3 separate regions of the Homo sapiens genome follow, and all the other regions are linked to region 1. Evidence: promoter capture Hi-C in human tissues and cell types (Jung and others, 2019). All regions are on one chromosome and are shown on one strand. Each heading gives the region's core, a stretch centred on a gene start or on the middle of the fragment in contact. The rest is flanking DNA. Distances are from core to core; before and after follow the strand shown. Region 1 holds the start of C18orf32 (chromosome 18 open reading frame 32). Region 2 holds the start of LOC107985147 (a long non-coding RNA gene). Region 3 overlaps LOC124904355 (a long non-coding RNA gene).

Evidence for each region. Contacts are between HindIII fragments. The study calls those that stand out against the background at their distance.
Region 2: a fragment that was not itself captured here is called in contact with the fragment with the promoter of C18orf32 in region 1 in 2 of the 25 tissues and cell types used here (dorsolateral prefrontal cortex and lymphoblastoid cells).
Region 3: a contact is called between a fragment that was not itself captured here and the fragment with the promoter of C18orf32 in region 1, in 1 of the 25 tissues and cell types used here (dorsolateral prefrontal cortex).

The regions. Positions count from the first base shown.
Region 1 is chr18:49,485,161-49,489,077 of GRCh38, forward strand. It overlaps C18orf32 (chromosome 18 open reading frame 32), which reads right to left and starts at 2,074. Exons shown (of 3, transcript NM_001035005.4): 1 at 1,883-2,074. The region is part of intron 5 of RPL17-C18orf32 (RPL17-C18orf32 readthrough); the gene reads right to left. RPL17 (ribosomal protein L17) reads right to left here. Exons shown (of 7, transcript NM_001035006.5): 7 at 3,321-3,406. The coding sequence ends at 3,359. MIR1539 (microRNA 1539) reads left to right here and starts at 2,213; the gene lies at 2,213-2,262. RefSeq lists a silencer at 1,803-1,932 and an enhancer at 1,973-2,132. The HindIII fragment of the contact is 6,566 bases long and covers 1-2,544 here.
Region 2 is chr18:48,759,227-48,763,143 of GRCh38, forward strand. It overlaps CTIF (cap binding complex dependent translation initiation factor), which reads left to right. Exons shown (of 12, transcript NM_014772.3): 9 at 2,164-2,463. It overlaps LOC107985147 (a long non-coding RNA gene), which reads left to right and starts at 2,470. Exons shown (of 2, transcript XR_001753444.2): 1 at 2,470-3,917. The HindIII fragment of the contact is 7,353 bases long and covers 1-3,917 here.
Region 3 is chr18:48,909,901-48,913,817 of GRCh38, forward strand. LOC124904355 (a long non-coding RNA gene) reads right to left here. Exons shown (of 3, transcript XR_007066464.1): 1 at 3,658-3,917; 2 at 1,604-1,751. Among named protein-coding and RNA genes, the nearest start is that of SMAD7, 39 kb to the right of the region's middle. The HindIII fragment of the contact is 9,089 bases long and covers 1-3,917 here.

The DNA of each region.
Region 1 (3,917 bases), core at 824-3,323:
TTAGACATTTAAAAATTATTCACAATACAGGTAAACGGTGGCATAGAGAATCAAATCTGAATGTCTTTGAAATGAATTACAAGCAAGAGCTATAAACAAAAATGTAAATTGAGGCTGGGCGCGGTGGCTCACGCCTGTAATCCAAGCACCTTGGGAGGCCGAGGGGGTGGATCATCTTAGGTAAGGAGTTCGAAACCAGCCTGGCCAACATGGCAAAACCCTGTCTCTACTAAAAATACAAAAATTAGCTGGGCGTGGTGGTGGGCACCTGTAATCCCAGCTACTGGGGAGGCTGAGGCAGGAGAATTGCTTGAACCTGGGAGGCGGAAGTCGCAGTGAGCTGAGATTGCGCCATTGCACTCCAGCCTGCGTGACAAGAGCAAAACTCCGTGTCAGAAAAAAAAAAAATAAAAATAAAATAAAATAAAATCAATTGCTGGGGCAATAGTGATTTTTTTTTTTTTGAGACAGGGTCTTGCTCTGTTGCTCAGGCTAAAGTGCAGTGGCTCAAACATACCACCTGTGTTCAGAGTTCACTGCAGCCTTGACTTCCCAGAATCAAGCTATCCCCCTTCCTCAGCCTCCTGAGTAGGTAGGACCACAGCCCTGCGCCACGATGCCCGACAGATTTTTTAATTCTTAGTAGAGATGAGGTCTCACTGTGTTGCCCATGCTGATCTTAAAGTCCTAAGCTCAAATGATCCTCCCGCCTAGGCCTCCCAAAGTGCTGGGATTACTGGAACCTGGCCTAATTTTTTTTTTTAAATAATTAGCAAGGTGTGATGGCACGCGCCTGTAGTCCCAGGTATTTGGGGAGCTGAGGAAGGAGAGAACCGCTTGCGCCCAGGAAAGCCGAAACTGCCGTGAGCTATGATGGCCCACTGGACTCCAGCCTGGGCCACAGAGGCAGACCCTGTCTCAAGATTAAAAAAAAAAAAAAATCCAAAAGTTGTAACCTGTCCAAAGTTCTCACAGAGGTAACTGGTAACTAGAGCTTCTAAGACCATTATTTCCAGTTCTGGTTTTCCTCAATGCTCTTGCCTTTTCCTCTTCCAAAAACACAATGGTCATGTTTTTACCAAACTTTTACCAAACTTTCCAAACCAACGAAACCCCTTCAAAACAACTGACAATGCTACCAGTACTAGTTTAGTGACTGACAGGCCCTCCATCATAAAGATTCATTTTTACTTCTGCAATTGTGTTTTAAGTAAGTTCGCACACAGTACGATGTACATAAACTCTCGAGGACAAATACTACTAATCACTTACGCCACAATTACGGCTTTTAAGAGACTTTTTAGCTCTCTTCGGAATGAAGCCTATTTGTATCTTATCTTTTAATCTTCATAATAATACTTCGGTAAGATATTTTACTTCACACATATGGAAACTGGGTCAGAAAAGTCTAGAAGGTGGCTACGAGATATTATTATTTTAATTATTCGCTCCAAGCCAACAAAGCGAGCAAAACGGATTAAAGCTGTTGCAGAGGAATCTTCTTTCACTCAACTTAAGTCCAGACAACAGAGTAGACAGTTAAAGTCTGAGGCTCCATCCGAAATAGGGAAGGCATAACAGGGAAAGTCACCTTCCTCCAAGTCATCCAGTTGAGCATGTCATCTTAGTGGAGACAGAGGGAGCGGGGACAGGTTGAGTCAATGACAATGATTGAAAAGAGACGAGAACAGAGGCCTAACGGTGAAGGTCATAGAAAGGATGTGAAACCGATACTTGGCCACGGAAAAGAACAAAATCAATATAAAGTATCGGAGAGGCAAATGCAAGCTCCGAGGGCGCCGGTGGTGGACAAAGAATACAGACAGAGGGGAGGGGAGGGCGGGGCGGAGGGCGGAGGAGCGCGCTCGCGGAAGGAAGGTACCCTGAGAGCGAAGGCAGGCACCGCGGAGGCCGGCGGGCCGCGACCGCCGAGGAGGGAGGAGGCAGGAGGCCGCGCACCGCCTAGGACTCTGCGAGCGCGGCCCGGGCTGGGCCTGCGGAGCAGCTACAAAGCCCAACCCAGGCCGCTAGCCCGGGCACACTCACCCGCGACCGCGGAAACGCAGCTGACAATGTCCGCACTTCCGGAGGGAGGGACGATCCGCAGCCGAGCCAATGGGCGCCTTCAACGGGGACGACAAAGGCGCGCTTGCGTCAACCCGGGGTCGCACAGCACGCAGCAGTGTTGCCCAAGGGGCGCGGCGAGGCTTCCGGCTCTGCGGCCTGCAGGTAGCGCGAAAGTCCTGCGCGTCCCAGATGCCCAACTAAAAGCTTCGCTGCGGGAAGAAAGCCTGACCTGACTACACCCAGACCCAGAACGCAGGATCTCGGTAAAGGATGATGCCTGTGCAAACGGCGCGGCACCCACACGGAAGGTGGCAGCTAGGCCGTTGAGGCAACTGTGGATAAGCTATTAGTTTTGCTGGTTTCTTAAATTCAAGGGCAGAGCAAACTAACATTAAGGCCAACTTTACAAACGTCAGTTGCTTAAAAGAAGCAGTTACATCACTTTATAAACGAAAAGTACTGACGCTCGCTAGGATGTCAGTACGTGTTGGCGAAGTTGTGTGAAAACTGGGACCCTCATAAACCGTTGGTGGAAATGTAGCGTGCAGCCTTTTTGGAAATATTTGGAAGTTCCTCAGATGTTTACTCAGGTAACCTTATGATCTAGCAATTCCACTCTAGTATATACTCAATAAATGAAAACACAAAAATCTGCACACAAACGTTCACAGTACCATCGTTCCTAATAGCAAAAACAAAACCCCTTTATCAATTGACGAAATGATACAGGTTGAGCATCAACCTAAAAAGCTTCAAAACCTGAGCCTGAGTGCTGTTATCATACTCAAAGGCAATGCTCAATGGAGCCATTTCCAACTGGGGATGATCAACTGGTATATTCACATACTGGATTGTTCTGCAAAGAAAACCACTGCAAATTCCTTTTGGGATAATGAAACTTTTTTTGAGACAGGGTCTTGTTCTGTCTTGCCCACGCTGGGGTGCAGTAGTGCTCACTGCAGCCTCCCACCTCAGCCCCCCAATTAGCTGGGACTACATGCAAGTGACACCACACTTACTTTTTTTTAACAGACAGGGTTCTGACATGTTGCCCTGGCTGGGCTTAAGCAGTCAGCCTCCACCTCCCAAAGTGCTGGGACTACAGAAATGAGCCACTGTGCCCAGCCATGAAAATGGTTTTTAATGGTGCAGGGTAAACAATCTTGTGTTTCTAGTTCTAATCCTAAAAAATCCTCATTTGATCCATCTTGTAAGGACACTTGAAATATGTTCACTAATAAAGACAACCAACATTCTTTTCCTTTTAATTACATTTATTTTAATGCTGAATTTACTCCCGTGCCATAAGTTTTTGTTTCTTCAGTTTCTTCTGGGATATCTGGGGAAAGAAAAATGTGTTAAGTTTCTTAGAGAAAACCACAGTACATCTTGGAGGACTTCAGCTTATTCTGGAGGCAGGAAACCTAGTCGTTAAGGACTAAGGGGGAAAAATACTTAAATGGTAGAAATCAACAGAACTTAAGTTCATTAGATGTAAAAAGAAGTGTACAGAATCACTCAGGTTCTTGACTTAAAAGAACTAAATGTGATCAATTACTGAAAACAAGCTTCTTAGATTTGGGGAGAGGGCCCATTTTGAAGTGGCTATGTACATCTAAGTGGGGCCATCAGCAGATAATCATACGGGCCTGAGGTACTGAATATAAAACTACCAGTTTTTTTTTTTTTGAGACAGCGTCTCGCTCTGTCACCCAGGCTGGAGTGCAGTGGCGCGATCTCGGCTCACTCCTAGTTCCTCCTCCCGGGTTCATGCCATTCTCCTGCCTCAGCCTCCTGAGTAGCTGGGACTACAGATACCCGCCACCACGCCCAGCTAATTTTTTTTTGCA
Region 2 (3,917 bases), core at 756-3,255, 730 kb before region 1:
GGAACTGTCCCAAGAAAGGCCAACTTGCCCACAGCCATTCCCACACAGCAGCAGGGCCTACAGAGGCTTCCTCCTGGGGCTTCCGCAGAGCTCCATGTTCTGGGCTTCTCCTCCATCCTCCCCTACTGCCGACTCTCCTCAAGCTCTTGCCCCAGAGGCCAGGCCCAGGGTCCACACTCAGGCAGGATAAGGCAGGTCAGACCTCTTCTTGGATCCACTCTTGAAGATGAGATGCTGCTCCCAGTATCCTCTCCACCGAGTCCTCTAGAGTTCTGCTAAATGTAACTGCAGGGCAGCAGAGTGGAAACAGCACGGGCTTTAGAGCGCAGCTGAGCAGGCTCAGACCTCACTTTGCCTTTGACTGGATGGGTGGTCTTGGGCAAGTCACCTAATCTCCCTGAGCCCCAGTTACTCATCTGTAAAATGGGTGTTAATACTACACACCTTGCTGAGAGACTGTGAAGGTTAAATGAAATAACGTGTACAGATATGTTCTTGTGGGTATTCCTATTCTATATGCAGACCACTGTTCCTGCCCTGGGGCCCAGATGGTCGGAAGAGAGGGGTACATGGGGGAATGGAACAGAGAAGGTAGATCTATAGCACCTATAGATCAGTTTCAAGGACTCCACTCAGGTGAGGCCTCCTGAACTCCTGGACCAAGAAGACATGGGCTCAGGCTCAGGCTGGGTCACTCCCCACTCTGCTAGTTGCTCACTCTAAAAAAGGGTAAATCCTAGGTGGCCAACCAGCCACATCCTAAACATTTTCATCAGGGAGAGCAACACTTTCCTTCTCTCTTTCAAGAGACAGGTAAAGCGTGAGATGTCTCTTGGGGTGGGGATTTGTGTCCTGTTAACTTTACCCAGGGACTCAGAGTAGCCTTCCCTGAAGAGGTGGTTGGGTTTGAGGAGAAGAACTAGGCCACCCTATTCCTTCACCCAGGATTCAGCCCTTTCTTTTTTTTTTTTTTTTTTTTGAGATGGAGTCTCGCTCTGTCACCCAGGCTGGAGTGCAGTGGCCCAATCTCGGCTCACTGCAAGCTCCGCCTCCCGGGTTCATGCCATTCTCCTGCCTCAGCCTCCTGAGTGTTTGGTTCTCAAGCCAGAGACTAGCTGCCCTTGGAACTTGATCCCACCATGGAAGGGCTCAAGGAAAGCTATAGATTTTCTCGTCTAACCTCACTGTGTTACCTATGAGGAAACTGAGGCCCAGAGAGTGAAATCACTTACCCAAAGCCACACAGCTAGAGGCAGAGAGTGGGATCTAGAGCCTTGGTCTGTGCCTTCTAGGCCAGAGCTTCTATTGTCAGGGACAGAAGACCAAGCTTGGATCTCATTTCATGACCCTGACCCTGCCCTTCCAGCCAGATCTCACTTCCTTGCAGTTAAGTTGTTCCCATTCTTGGCCACCAAGAATGAGTCAATACAATAAGATGACATTTTTTTCTTCTTCAAGCCCCTGGTCTGGTCCTAGTTGCAGTGAAATCTCATAAGGCTGTAGGGCTTTTTACTTGTAATATCCCTCCTAGAAGCCCAACTGTTTTAGTGGCACATGGGAGGATTCCTTGGTGTGTGGCATATGTCTACAGAAGACCAGCACAGTCTCCACAGGACAAAAAGCCAGGGCTGTGCCCACAGGGGGCCCTATGCCCAGAGAACAAGTCATCATTGGGCATTTGGAGCTGAGGGTGTAGGGGACAAGGTGGCCACTGCCTGGGCCGCTTTTAACCACCACTGCAGGCATTTTGGATCTGACCTGCCTTCCTGACCAAGTCTTCCTACCCTCATTTTCTCTTTGGCCCGATTTCATATTTGTTATCTTATTTCCTCTTTCATAATTTCCATTAAATCTTTTCTAGATTAAGATATTTGATGGACAAATAAACAAAAAAAGCCAATGTATATGAGAATCCTGGGTAGGAGCTAGAACCCAAAAACAGTATCAGCCCTGGATGTCATAGGGGCCAAGAAAAAAGGCAACAAGGAGCTTTTGGCGCATGAGGGGTCTTTGGTGGAGGTTCCCAGAGGGACCAGCCCTCAGATCCAGGGAAGTAGGCCTGGTCCTGCTTTCTGGGGGTGGCCACCCTCTTTCCACCAGGCCACCCCTGCACAGAGACCTCGGCTTCACTCAGGCACATTCATTTGTCTCCGACACCCCCAGGATGAAGTGGCCGTGGAGACGACCACTCCCCAGCAGAACAAGATGGACAAGCTGATCGAGATCCTGAACAGCATGCGGAACAACAGCAGCGACGTGGACACCAAGCTCACCACCTTCATGGAGGAGGCCCAGAACTCCACCAACTCCGAGGAGATGCTGGGCGAGATCGTGCGCACAATCTACCAGAAGGCTGTGTCCGACCGCAGCTTCGCCTTCACCGCTGCCAAGCTCTGCGACAAGATGGCGCTCTTTATGGTGGAGGGGACCAAGTTCCGGAGCCTGCTCCTCAACATGCTGCAGGTAACTGGACGCCGGCCACCACCGCCCCGCGCCCCCTGCCCCTCTGCGTTCGGTGAGTTATTCCTAGCGAGAAGGCTGCGAGTTCTGGCCACAGTTGGACTTTTCCCAAGTTCCGCCCTTGCCCGATTAATTATAGAAAACACAAAGGCAGTTAAGGGGCCAGGAATGAGCGGCTGGATTTGTGTGTGTTTATGTGTGGGCTCCCTGGTTACAATGGACCAATATAATTTTATAGGTGCTTTATGTTTAACCAGCCTTTCCCACTTTCTATTTTCATAAGAGGCTGGCTCTTGGTCTCAACCTGGCTATGTGCTTTGACCTCTCTACATCCAAGCAGACATGAACTTGCTGTGGACTTCTCTTTTCCTCCTCCTTCCACCCAGGGCTAGGTCCTTAGACCTTTGCAGATATGCAGTTGATCATCACTGGTAGTGAGATGGGTTTGAGTAAAGCCACACATGAGCAGAAAAGGGATAGTCTGTTTACCAACACACTATGGCTCCTGGGCAGAGGGAAGTCACGGTGATGCAAGACTGTCTTCATCCTTGCTCTTTCCCTCTTAATATCCCTTCACCTCTGACAGTGTAACCCCACCCCTGATCATTGCTTCCTCCATGAAGGCCCACGTCCAGTGGTTCTATCAGCATGAGTGTGTCGTGGGAGTAGGCGCGTGCACTTGGACGGAGCTTAGCAATGTTTCATCTCACAAGTACCTGCTTGCCTGTATGGGCAGTAGCAGATGAGCTGGTGGCCCCAAAACTGGTGACGTCAGGGAGAGATAGCAGGGTCATGGGATGGTGGCCACATCAGGTCCTGGGACTGTCCTTGGAGACTCTTGGCTGGGGGAGAGCCATGTCTCCTTTCCTCCTATTTTGTATTTTAGAGACTAGTTAAGATACAAAGTGAGTTTCTGGTCCAGATGAGATAAAATGGTAGTTTCCAAGTAATGAAGTAGAATGGCAGGCTATAGGGCCATCTTAACTAGGGTGACCATACAATAGATCATCCAAACTGCAACACTTGTGAAAGTCAAAGGGGGTTCAGTTCATAATTATGCCTAGACAACAGGTGTAAACAAGGGCATATGGCCACCCTCACCTTAACCATGTGGTTCGCAGTCTGCCGTCTTCCCTAAAAGCTGGGAGGAAGTTGCCGCTAAGGCCACCTCTACATGCAGCCGGCAGGGCTCCATCCCCACCCACCCTCTCCTCTGCATGTGAGTTGCACTCACTGCAACATGAGCCCTCCCTGGCCAGCCTGGGCTGCTTCTCTCCTGCTCCAGGCCCTGATCAGGTTCCCATTCCTGGATCGCCCGCACTCCCCTGGTGACGAATTCCCGCATTACCTGAGGGATTTGCACATGGGGCATGTTCCTCGCGGGCCGGAATGTCCTGGGAGCGTGTGGAGAGTGGCGGGCAGAGAAGCCTGTCTGCCAGAGAGCACCCGGCACAGGG
Region 3 (3,917 bases), core at 1,059-3,558, 580 kb before region 1:
TGGTTTCGCCTGATTTTGAACTTTATATAAAGGGAATCATACAGTGTAGACTTTTCTGTGTGTGCCTTCTTTGGCCCAGCGTTATAACTGTGCAGATCATCCTGCTGCCGTGTAGAGTTGGAGTTCTTTCATGCCCATTGTTGCATGATGTGCACTGTGTAAATAACCATCGACTTTTGACAGATATTTGAGTTGTTTCAGTTTAGAGCTATTATCAATAGTGCTGCTATTAATATACTTTATTTTTTTATTTTGAGACAGAGTCTCACTGTGTCACCCAGGCTGGAGTGCAGTGGTGTCATCTCACCTCACTGCAACTTTCGCCTCCCAGGTTCAAGCGATTCTCCTGCCTCAGTCTCCCAAATAGCTGGGATTGCAGGCATGTGCCAACATGCCAGACTAATGTTTGCATTTTCTTTAGTAGAGGTGGGGTTTCACCATATTGGCCAGGCTGGTCTCAAACTCCCGAACTCAAGTGATCTGCCTGCCTAGGCCCCCCAAAGTGCTGCGATTACAGGTGTGAGCCACTGTACCCGGCCTGCTGTGAGTATTCTTGTACATGTTCAAGAATATATTCACTAAAAGACACATATATTTTAGTGAATATATGTGTGCATTTCTGATGCAGGTATGATTCTCTTTAGCTTTGGTAGATACTGCCAAAAAGTTAACCAGTTTATACCCCCAGCATCATCACACAAGAGTTCCTGTTGCACCACGTCCTCACTCCCATTCAGTACTAAGTAGCATATCTTTAAATGAACACTAGCATCTTTTAAATTCTGCTCCACTACTAGACAACCATGAAAATGAATAATCTCCAAAAATGTCTGTGATGTATCATTAAGTGACATAAGCAGGGCGCAGGCTGATATGTAGAATGTGACTCCATTGGTGAGAATTGTATATGTGCATATGTAGAGGCAGAAGCCAATTCAGAAAGGGGACATATCTGAGTCTCCAGCATGCTCACCTCTGGGGAGTGAAGTTGGAGGGCATAATTTAAATGATGAGGTTAGCGCTAATTTTTACTTTTGATACCATTTTTCAATATTTTTAAAATTCAAGAAAAAGATCTGTATAAGTAAAATAAAATCACTCACCATTCCATTATCTAAGGCTGGCAGCCAGACTCTGTCATTCTTGTTATTTCCCAGCATGCGCTCCTGCTCTGGAATTACCTCGGGCAGGGCCTCTGGGACAAGTCTCCCGGGCACTGTAATTTCCCTGGCTGCAGTGTGTCATTAGAAGATTTGGTGCTGATGACACGACGCCCATACACAGTGAACATTACAGCCCCGGTTGGGACAGGACAGCTTGGCCAAGGAGCAAGCCCTTCCTGCAGAGAGACCCCCAGAGTCTCGAGCTGCCTCAGTGGGATCAGGCCTTAGCGTGTTTCTGTCTCGACCTTAAGGAACAGAAGCTGGGAAAACTACTCTTTCAAGGCTGCTGGTGTCTCTAGGCTCCCCTGGAGACCCAGGGCTCAGAGCAAGGGCTGTGGAGTTAGGCAGACCTGGGCTTCGGTTCTACCACGCTTTTGCTGTGAGTCTCTCGCTGGGCCTGCAAGTCTTCACCTGTAAAATGAGCTAATGAGAGCGCTTACCTTAAAGACAACACAACGTAGGCCAGGCGCGGTGGCTCACGCCTGTAATCCCAGCTACTCGGGAGGCTGAGGCACGAGAATTGCTTGAGTCTGGGAGGCGGAGGTTGCAGTGAGCAGAGATCATGCCATCATGCCACTGTACTTCAGCCTGGGTGACAAGAGTGAAACTGTCTCAAAAAAAAAAACAAAAAAAAAAAGTACCTTGCAGAGAGTGCCTGGCACATACTTAGCCCTAAGTAAACGCAGGTTTTTGTTATTATTATTGTGGGTGTAGTTGTCGCTATTACCACCACCCTAAGAGGTAAAGTTTTGCATTCACCTTTTGGGAGAAAAGAATATAATAATGTGCTTTTTATTTTCACTAGTGTTATAAAGTAAGTACATACCCACTTTTCTTTTCTTTTTTTTTTTTGGAGATGGAGTCTCGCTCTGTCCCCTAAGCTGGAGTGCAGTGGTGCAATCTCGCTCACTGAAGCCTCTGCCTCCCAGGTTCAAGCAATTCTCCTGCCTCAGCTTCCCGAGTATTTGGGACTACAGGTGCACACCAGCTAATTTTTAATAGAGGCTGGGTTTCACCATGTTGCCTAGGCTGGTTTCAAACTCCTGAGCTCAGGCAAGCCGCCCACCTCGGCTTCCCAAAGTGCTAGGATTACAGGCGTGAGCCACTGCACCTGGTCCCATACCCACTTTTCTTGGGGAAAAGGGAATTTGGCTGAGCACAGTGGCTCATTCCTATAATCCCAGCAAGGCAGGAGGATCACTAGAGACCAGCAGTTGGAAACCAGCCTGGGCAATGTAGCGAGTCTCCGTCTCAACAAAAAAATTAAAAAATTAGCCAGGCAGGGTGGTGCTCACCTTTAGTTCCAGCTATTTGGGAGGCTGAGGGCAGGAAGATCATTTGAGCCCAGGAGTTCAAGGCTATGATCATGCCACTGCACTACAGCCTGAGCAACAGAGACCCTGTCTCTAAAAAAAAAGAAAAAAGATAAAAAAAAGGAATTCACCTGGAACTTAAATTCATATATTTTAGTTGAAAAGTTAAATAGTCATTCAACATTGATCCATCCAATATCGGTTGAGTGCCTTCTATCCCTTCTATGTGCTGGGCATTGTTCTAGATTCTGGGGTTATGGCAGTGACCAGAGCAAAGTCCCTGCTGTCACAGAGCTCACACTCTACTAGGGGCCTCTGATAATAGTCAAGCCAACAAACAGATATATAATAAAATGTCAAACATAGGCCAGGCACGGTGGCTCACACCTGTAATCCCAGCACTTTGGGAGGCCAAGGCAGGCGGATCATGAGGTCAAGAGATCGAGACCAGCCTGGCCAACCTGGTGAAACCCCATCTCTACTAAAAATACAAAATTAGCCAGGCATGGTGGTGTGCGCCTGTAGTCCCGGCTACTCCGGAGGCTGAGACAGGAGAATCACTTGAACCTGGGAGGCGGAGGTTGCAGTAAGCTGAGATCATGCCATTGCACTCCAGCCTGGGCAACAAGAGCAAAACTCTGTCTCAAAAAAAAAAAAAAAGGCAAATGTGTATATAATACAGTAAGTATAATGTCAACCACCAATATGAAGAAAAATCAAGCAGGATAGGCAAGAGGAGCTGGGAACGTGGTCTGATGACTCTAATCAATGTGTTCACTGGAGCCGGAGCTCTGCTCTGAGCCTCTCTCTCCTTGCCCAGAGGGTACTGGCTTTGGCCAGGTTAAAGTGGCCCCTGGCCTCAACCAGATGAGGTTGAGGAGAAGGTGAAGAGCCGTTTCAAAGACTACGTAGCTGAGGAGCAGGCAAGGGCAGGGTTTCATCAGAGAGGAGCCCTGGACCAGGTGGGAGACTGTGCCCTTGGAGGACACCTGGTGGCAGTCCCTCATGGGGCACCACTGGAGAGGCACTTCATGCCAATTACAGCAGGTATTTACTCATCACCTACTACGAGCCCAGTGCTGGGCTTTGTACTGTGACTGTGAAAGGATTCAAGTAAGCATGAGGGCTGGGCTCGTGCCTGACCTCAAGGAGCTCCCAGACGCTGGAGATACAAGACCCACCTCCATAAAAGAAAGAAGCAAGCCAGATTCTGCAAGGGACTGAGTGTGGGGCACAGGTCACATAATCATCTGGATAGGCAAACCTCCAAATCTCAGCCACAAAGAAAAAGTTCCACATTCAAACAAAGTCTGCAGCGGGCCCAGGGGCTCTCCAGAGCAGCCATTCAGGATCCGAACGCTTTTCCATCTTCTGTCTCCATCATCCTAAAACATATCTTCCAGGTCCCTGTGGCAGAGAGAGAGAGAGAGAGAGAGAGAGA